3 separate regions of the Homo sapiens genome follow, and all the other regions are linked to region 2. The links are contacts of gene promoters, found by promoter capture Hi-C in human tissues and cell types (Jung and others, 2019). All regions are on one chromosome and are shown on one strand. Each heading gives the region's core, a stretch centred on a gene start or on the middle of the fragment in contact. The rest is flanking DNA. Distances are from core to core; before and after follow the strand shown. Region 1 overlaps MLEC (malectin). Region 2 holds the start of CABP1 (calcium binding protein 1). Region 3 has its middle 5.4 kb from the start of POP5.

What was found. The method cuts DNA at HindIII sites, captures the fragments that hold promoters and counts their contacts. A contact is called where the count stands out against the background at its distance.
Region 1: a contact is called between a fragment that was not itself captured here and the fragment with the promoter of CABP1 in region 2, in 3 of the 25 tissues and cell types used here (adrenal gland, neural progenitor cells and small bowel).
Region 3: a fragment that was not itself captured here is called in contact with the fragment with the promoter of CABP1 in region 2 in 2 of the 25 tissues and cell types used here (dorsolateral prefrontal cortex and liver).

The regions. Positions count from the first base shown.
Region 1 is chr12:120,700,643-120,703,342 of GRCh38, forward strand. MLEC (malectin) reads left to right here. Exons shown (of 5, transcript NM_014730.4): 5 at 1-1,217. It overlaps LOC124903035 (a long non-coding RNA gene), which reads right to left. Exons shown (of 2, transcript XR_007063489.1): 1 at 2,071-2,700; 2 at 1,169-1,402. Among named protein-coding and RNA genes, the nearest start is that of UNC119B, 8.5 kb to the right of the region's middle. The HindIII fragment of the contact is 5,890 bases long and covers 1-2,700 here.
Region 2 is chr12:120,639,217-120,641,916 of GRCh38, forward strand. It overlaps CABP1 (calcium binding protein 1), which reads left to right and starts at 1,410. Exons shown (of 6, transcript NM_001033677.2): 1 at 1,410-2,123. The coding sequence starts at 1,470. It overlaps CABP1-DT (CABP1 divergent transcript), which reads right to left and starts at 1,306. Exons shown (of 2, transcript NR_183426.1): 1 at 834-1,306. RefSeq lists silencers at 1,270-1,569, 1,790-1,889, 1,900-2,069, 2,290-2,389. The HindIII fragment of the contact is 37,846 bases long and covers 1-2,700 here.
Region 3 is chr12:120,585,471-120,588,170 of GRCh38, forward strand. No RefSeq gene overlaps it. Among named protein-coding and RNA genes, the nearest start is that of POP5, 5.4 kb to the left of the region's middle. The HindIII fragment of the contact is 5,268 bases long and covers 1-2,700 here.

The DNA of each region.
Region 1 (2,700 bases), core at 30-2,529, 61 kb after region 2:
TAAGAAAATTGCAAAGAAGCCTTAATGTTCAAGCTTTAGAAAGATCAGAGCAATTTTTCTCTTTCAGTCCAAACTAAGACTCTCTGTATTTAAATCTCTCTGGGGCAAGAGGGCTAGATTTCCTCATTTTGTTATGAGACTAGATTGGTACCAGTAGATCAGCTGCCTAGCGAGGGCAGGTTTCTTCTTTGCATCTGTGTGGCTTGCTTCCAGTCTGGCCTGTCCTTTCCAGCTGCCTTTTGTCTAGCCTGCTATGGGGGGCCAGATTATCTTGATAAGAGCAGGTGATTTGGGGACTAGCTGGGTTGGCAGGAAAAGAGCAGGATGGATCTCTTGGGACAGGTTCCCCCAGGAGTATAAACACAAGGAGCCAGGATTGTGCTGGCAGCCAAGGAAACAGTAGTGCCTGTTTGAGTTGGCAGAGAGGGCCTTGGCACCTCTTGCATCCAGGCAGTCTTGTGAGATGGGGGCACATAGCACTGGGGAAAGCAGAACTCCATTCTCACCTCTATTTTGAGCTTCAGTGCTTTATTTCAGTATGAGGAAAAACAACAACAAACTGAAGTGCGCTTTCCGTCCTTTCAAAGGACAACTGTCGGGAAGGGAGAGCCGAGTTGCGAGGTAGGAGGGGAGCACTGGCAGGGAGAGACATTCTTGACTCCTCTCTTCCCTGGTGTGTTGTGATCCAGGGAATGAAAAGAAATTTGACCCTGGATTGGTTCTCTCCTTGGACTTAAGGAATCTTACCTTTTCCTTCCACAAAGTTCTCCCAGGCAAGGACCAGCTGCCCATTCTGAGCCCAGGGCAGCCTCTTCAACCATTATTGGTCTAACCTGGCTTGTCAGGAAACCAAGCCCACCCTTCCACATTGGGCCTGGCTGCTCTATTCTGTACCAAGTACTGGAGAAAAAGCATCAAGTTCTTAGCCCTTGTAGCTTCTACCCTAGTTTCCCATCCTCTCTCTGTGGAGGCCAAACCAACTCTTTGCCAGCAGCCACAACATGCATTGACAGCGGCACAGTGAGATATAACTGATGGGCTTTGAACCTGGTTGGCCGGGGAAGCTGTAGGGGTGGATAGAGCTGGCTTTCCTTCTGGGCTGTCTCCATCTGACCCTACCCCTTCCATGTCCCACCCCACTCCCACCAAAAAGTACAAAATCAGGATGTTTTTCACTGTCCATTGCTTTGTGTTTTAATAAACAATTTGCAGTGACACTCTGTGTTGGGACTGAGTTCGAACTTGATCTCAAAGCGCTGAAGTGATGGGGTGGGAAAAAGGAGACCCAGGGGTTCACTTGGCTCCAAAGAGTTCTCCTGTGACGAGGCTGGGAACTGTTGTCCATTTAGCTGTGTGTCTTTTGCTTTTCTTCTCTCTGGGATGTTTGCTTAGGGGAATCATTCTGTAAAACCCTTCCTGGTCATTTCAACTAGCAGCGCATTTAAGGACAAAAAATTTGTTTTCACTTTCACTGGAACAACTAGGCACAGACTGTCCCACTCTTAAGGCACACTGGGCCTATTGCTGCCTCTCCTCACCATTCCCTTAGCCTCTGTGATAGCCCACGGACAAGCTAAGCTAACCTAAGCCATAGGAGATTTTTCTCTGCTTGCTCCTTTTCTGGTGTTTTGTCATTGTTGATTACACATTAGGAAGAGCAGAATGCAGGAGGGATTTTTTTTCCTATAATTTATAAGCCACGTTTTACAGGTGAGGATCGTTGAGCCAGGCATGGTGGCTTAACGCCTGTTATCCTAGCACTTTGGGAGGCTGAGGCCAGCAGATTGCTTGAGCCCAGGAGTTCAAGACCAGCCTGGGCAACATGGCGAAACCCTGTCTCTACTAAAAATACAAAAATTAGCCAGGCATGGTGGTGCATGCCTGTAGTCGCAGCTACTTAGGAGGCTGAGGTGGGAGGATTACTTGAGCCCAGGAGGTCAGTGCTGCAGTGAGCTGAGATTTCGCCATTGCACTCCAGCCTGGGTGACCCAGACACAGACACACACACACAGACACACACATACACACACACACACAAACACTGAAGCTCAAAAAAGTTCAGTAACATACCCCAGACTAATGTAGTAAATGGTCTGGTCAAGCCAGGGTTCAAATTCAGTCTGTTTGCCATCAAAGCCCCAAGCTCTTTAAAGCTGTAAAGATAATTACAGCTGTCCATTACTGAGTCCTTGAAATGGGCTGGGCACAATGCCCAGCATTTTCCACATGTTATCTCTCTTTTATCTTCAACAAACCAGTTGCTATTCCCCTTTAAGAGATGAAGTGACTTGCACAAGGTAGCACAACCAACAAAAGGCGGAGCTGGGGTTTTAAACCAGGACTCCTGCTCTCCATCATTACCCTCTGCTGCCATCCATTTCTTCATGGTGCTGGGTGGCATGGCTCCAGAGCCTACCTGCGGGATTTCTCCGAGTGGGAATGGAGACTGCTGGCTTGCAGGGGTAGGGAGGGGTGGAGGTGGAGGAACAGGAGTTTGGCCTACCTCCCTCAGTTATCCCTTGAAGGGCAGAATTCAGTGTGCAGCCCCAAGAGTGAGGCCATTGTTGATGGAGTCTGTTCTCAGGGCCCAAACAAGCCAGGAGGCCCACAGAGCCTCTTTCTTAGGCTGAGCCCACCCATAACTGGAGTTCTTTCCTAATTCAGATTTCGTTGTTACTATTTCAAGTAGCTTTGCATGAG
Region 2 (2,700 bases), core at 160-2,659:
AGTGTAATATCGGCAATCTGTTTGTGTACCCTTCTTTTTTTTTTTTTTTTTTTTTTTTTTTGAGACAGGGTCTCACTCTGTTGCCCAGGCTGGAGTGTAGTGACCCAATCTCGGCTCACTGCAACTTTCACTTCCCGGGTTCAAGTTATTCTCATGCCTACAAGTGGCTGGGATTACAGGCGCCCACCACCACGCCTGGCTAATTTTTGTATTTTTAGTAGAGACAGGGTTTCACCATGTTGGCCAGGCTGGTCTCGAACTCCTGACCTCAAGTGATCCGCCGGTCTTGGCCTCCCAAAGTGCTGGGATTACAGGTGCGAGCCACTGTGCCCGGCCTCGTGTATCCTTTTAATGAGGCCGAGCGGTGACAAGACTGTGGATGGCATTGGGGCCAGGGACCAGAACAGGGAGAGCCTGGGAGGAACCCCTCCAGCCCCCCGCAAAGCTCAAGCACCGGATACTAAAGAAGAATGGTAGATGGGGCCTCACGATGTGCAGGGGGAAGGGAACTGGCTTAACTGGATGGTCCCCTGTCCGAGCACTGGGCTAGGCCTTTTGTGTGCATAGTATCGTCTGCTGTTACCAAGAAATTAGTTATGCTTATCATCTGCATTTTACAGAAGAGGAGAACAAGGCTCAGAGAGGTTGATGACACCTGCCCAAGTTACCCAGATGGTAGGTGGCAGAGCTGGGATTTGAGATTCAGATAAGGCCTGGGACGCTCCCTGGCTGCCCACCGAGAGCAGGAATTTCTGTAGCATCTAGAAAGGCAGGAAGGTGAAAGAGGGGACAAGAGCTGGAGGGGGAGCAAATGGGTCCTACCTGAGACTTACCATCATCAGGTGCTGCCAGACCTGGCTTCTCTTCTATTCTGAGAACTGATATCCTGTGGCTGACTTACCAGGGTCGTCCTAGTCCCCCCGCACGGTATTGGGAGTGGAGGCAGCCCCACACGGAGGCGCTGGGAGACTTTCCTCCCAGCAGTGTCCTGTCACTGCATTCCGGCCCCTGCGTTTGTAGGCAGTGATGTCACAGAGTGCCTTCATGCTCCTCGGGTCTCCGGTTCTCCCCGGACCTCTGTAGTCCTCATTGCCAAAGTTGTACCCCCTGGGGAGTGCACCCTGCCTGCATTTCTGGAGGTTCGGGCGGTTCCGGGGCTCTGCAGGAGCCTCCAGGCGTGATAAAGAGCGCTGCCGGCACTCCCGGGGTCTCGGCCTCTTTGGGGCCCATTGCCAAGCCCCTTCCCTCCTCGTGCTCCCGCTCCGCGTTGCAGCGTCCCCTTCGCCGCCAGGGGCCGCCCGGAAGCGGGGCTCCCCCAGGGCGGGGCGGGGCAAGGGGCGGGGCGCGGCGGTACCTGGGCCGCCAGGGAGCCGGGGGTGGGCTCTCCGGGGACAGCCGGCAGCGCCCCCAGATCTGCACCGCCAGCCGCCGGGAGCTCCGGGCTCCGGGCGTAGAGGCTGCGCTGTCACATGGGCGGCGGCGACGGGGCCGCATTTAAGCGGCCGGGGGACGGCGCCCGCCTCCAGCGCGTCCTCGGGCTTGGCTCCCGCCGGGAGCCCCGTTCTCTGCCCGCCGGGGGCCCCGCGCCGCGCCGCACCGCGCCGCCCCCGCCGGGCCATGCGAGCGCGGGCCCCGCCGCGATGAGCTCGCACATCGCCAAAAGCGAGTCCAAGACGTCGCTGCTGAAGGCGGCGGCGGCGGCGGCGAGCGGGGGCAGCCGGGCTCCCCGCCACGGCCCTGCCCGGGACCCGGGGCTGCCTAGCCGCCGGCTACCCGGCTCCTGCCCGGCGACGCCGCAGTCGTCCGGGGACCCCAGTTCGCGGAGGCCCCTGTGCCGGCCGGCGCCGCGAGAGGAGGGCGCGCGGGGGAGCCAGCGTGTGCTCCCCCAGGCGCACTGCAGGCCCCGGGAGGCGCTGCCGGCCGCGGCGTCCCGACCTTCGCCGTCGTCGCCGCTGCCGCCGGCCCGCGGGCGGGATGGGGAGGAACGGGGACTGTCCCCGGCGCTCGGCCTCCGGGGCTCTCTGCGAGCCCGGGGCCGCGGGGACTCCGTTCCAGCCGCCGCGTCCGAGGCGGACCCGTTCCTCCACCGGCTGCGCCCCATGCTCAGCTCCGCCTTTGGCCAGGTAAGGGCCGCGCCTCCCGTCAGCGCTCCCGGGAAAGGCGCTCGGGACCCTGCCGGCCGCGGTTGCGCGTCCACAGCCTCCTCCCGCGGCCCGTGGTCCCCCACGGATCACGCCTCGGCTCACCTCGTCCTCCCCGGGCCGGCGCCCTTGCCGGCACTCCTCCTCCCCGTGCCTGATTCAGCACCCCGTGCGCTGTCCACGCTCCGGGCCTCTTGGGGCAAGGCCCTCCCCGCTAGCCTCCCTCATACCCGCCAGAACCCGCCAGTCCTGGAAGAGAGCGACCTCTACGACCGTCCTGGAGATTTGCGGGGGTCAAGGAGGGGCGCTCCGAGCAGGTGGCGCCAAACCCACTCCTCTGGCCTCTGGCCAGTACCGCCAGGGAGGGACTCAGGAGAGCAAGCGGTTTGGAGTCTGGGGGTCAAGAGAGGGGACCTCAGAGAACACAGAATTACTTGAGGGCGAGGGACACTGGCCACTGCCTATCATGTCCCTGAAGGCCTGAGAAAAGTTAGGAGATCCAAAAATATGAGGAAAGAGAAGAGGTGTCTGGGTAGGCATGGAGGGGCATGCAGAGCTG
Region 3 (2,700 bases), core at 167-2,666, 54 kb before region 2:
GTCCCACAGGCTTGAGGGCAGTAGCTCCATCTTGGCTCACCGCAACCTCTGCCTCCTAGGTTCAAGCGATTCTCCTGCCTCAGCCTCCTGAGTAGCTGGGACTACAGGTGCCCACCACTATACCTGGCTATTTTTTGTATTTTTAGCAGAGATGGGGTTTTGCCATGTTGGCCGGGCTGGTCTCGAACTCCTGGCCTCATGTGATCTGCCTGTCTGGGCCTCCCAAAGTGCTGGGATTACAGGTGTGAGCCACCGTGTCCAGCCGGGATCACTGTCTTTATTCTTCATCCGTGTCTCCTGGGTGATCATTAATTGGGCTCTCCCAGTGTGCTGGCCACTGTCTTTTCTGGGTTTGATTGATTGAGTCCTCACATCAGCCTCATGAAGTTAGGACCCATTATCCTCTGAGACACAGGGAGGAAAATGGCTTGCCCAAGTTGACACAGTAAATTTGGGTGGACATCTGTCTTACCCTAAAACCTGTGCTCTTAACCCCTTGCTCTCTACTCTGTATTCGGGGACCTAGAAAGATGCTGAGGAAGGAGAGCGCAACTGGGGTACCATTCTGAGGTGACTTTGGCATCCGAGGGGTTTCTGTCAGAGCCCAGATGCTGCTGTTGTGGATGGTGGCAAAGGGAAACTGTATCTGCTCCAGCATTTTATTAAGCAGCCACTGCTCGTAAGAGGCTCCTACTCCTCGAATCTTAACCAATTTTCTGTAAAACCCTTATGGGGACAATCTAGATGAAATTAAACCCTCCATCTGCTTAGCCAGGGGCTTGGGGAGCCGCCACATCCTCCAGGTTGCTGGGACAGATGCAGCCCTCCCTGGACTTCAGTCAAAACATTGCATCTTGCTCCTCCTTTGTCCTCGCTGCCCTGTGAACCTCTTTCCCTGTCCCCGCCTGCTGTGAGAATTCGCTCATCCAAAAATTAATTGAAATTACAAGGGCTCTACTGTTTGACCCAGCAATTTCTCCACCAGCAATTTCTCCCACAGAGATTGTCGCATTTGTGCCAAATGACAGGTGAATGAGGATGTGTCTTGCTTGCAGCATCGTTGGTTATAGCAAAAGGCCACCTCAGTGTTTACCAGAAGGGGTCCACTGTATGTGTGTATTTATCGGACAACTATGGGCCAGGGAATGTTCATTCTAAACACTGCCTAGGCTGGGCGCGGTGGCTCACGTCTGCAATCCCAGCACTTTGGGAGGCCGAGGTGGGCGGATCACTTGAGGTCAGGAGTTCGAGACCAGCCTGGCCAATATGGTGAAACCCCATCTCTACTAAAAATACAAAAAACTAGCTGGGCATGGTGGTAGTTGCCTGTAAATCCCAGCTACTCGGGAGGCTGAGGCAGGAGGATCGCTTGAACCCAGGAGGCAGAGGTTGCAGTGAGCTGAGACTGTGCCACTGCACTCCAGCCTGGGCAACAGAGCAAAACTCTGTCTCAAAAAATAAATAAATAAATAAACAAATAAACACTGCCTAGACTGACTCATTTAATCCTGACAACTACCCTATAAAGTAGGTACTTGGTTTTATTAACCCCATTTTACAGATGAGGAAACTGAGGCTCAGGGAGAACAAACTGTTGGCCTAAGCTTCACGTAGCTTGTCCACAGCAGGGCCAGAATTTGGATCAGGCAGTCCATGTTCTTAACCACTGTTCTATATGGCTTCTCTGCCTTTATTTGCATCGAAAATTTCCAAAGGGTGACCCAAGAAGCTGTTGATGGTGGTTACCTCTGGGGAGAGGAATTCAGGTGTGAAGTAGGAAGGCCTTAGTTTCTACCATGTCCTCTGTTTTTCCATTTTATTTTGCCATATGTTTGTGTGCTGAATGTTTATGTTCCCTCAAATTAATATACGGAAATCCTAACCTTTAAGATGATGGTATTAGGAGGTGGGGCCTTTGGGAGGTGATTAGGTCATAAGAGTTGAACCCTCATGAATAGTATTAGTGCCCTTATAAAAGGGACCCCAGGCTGGGGACTGTGGCCCATGCCTGTAATCCCAGTACTTCAGGAGGCTGAGGTGGGTGGATCACTTGATTCTAGGAGTTTAAGACCAGCCTGGGCAACATGGTGAAACCCCGCCTCTCCTAAAAATACAAAAATTAGCTGGGTATGGTGGTGCATGCCTGTAATCCCAGCTACTCAGGAGGCTGAGGCAGGAGAATCACTTGAGCTTGAGCCTGGGAGGCAGAGGTTGCAGTGAGCTGAGATCACACCGCTGCACTCCAGCCTGGGTGACAGAACAAGGTCCTGTCTCCAAAAAAAAAAAAAAAGAGGGACCCCAGAGAGTGCTCTCTCCCTCTCCTACCACATGAGGACACAGAATCTCCTGGCACCTTAATCTTGGACTTCCCAGCCTCCAGAACTGTGAGCAATAAAAGCAATAAATATTTGTTGTTTAAGCCAACCAGTCTGTGGTATTTTTACTGTAGCATCCTGAAAAGACAAATGGAGATGTGCATATGTTAGTTTCATAATTTAAAGAAGTTACTGGCCACGCATGGTGGCTCATGCCTATAATCCCAGCACTTTGAGAGGCTGAGGCAGGAGGATTGCTTGAGCCCAGGAGTTCAAGACCAGCCTGGGCAACAAAGTGAGACCCCGTCTCTACAAAAAAGTACAAATTAGCCAGGCATGGTGGCACTTGGCTGTAGTCCCAGCTACTTGGGAGTGTGAGGTGGGA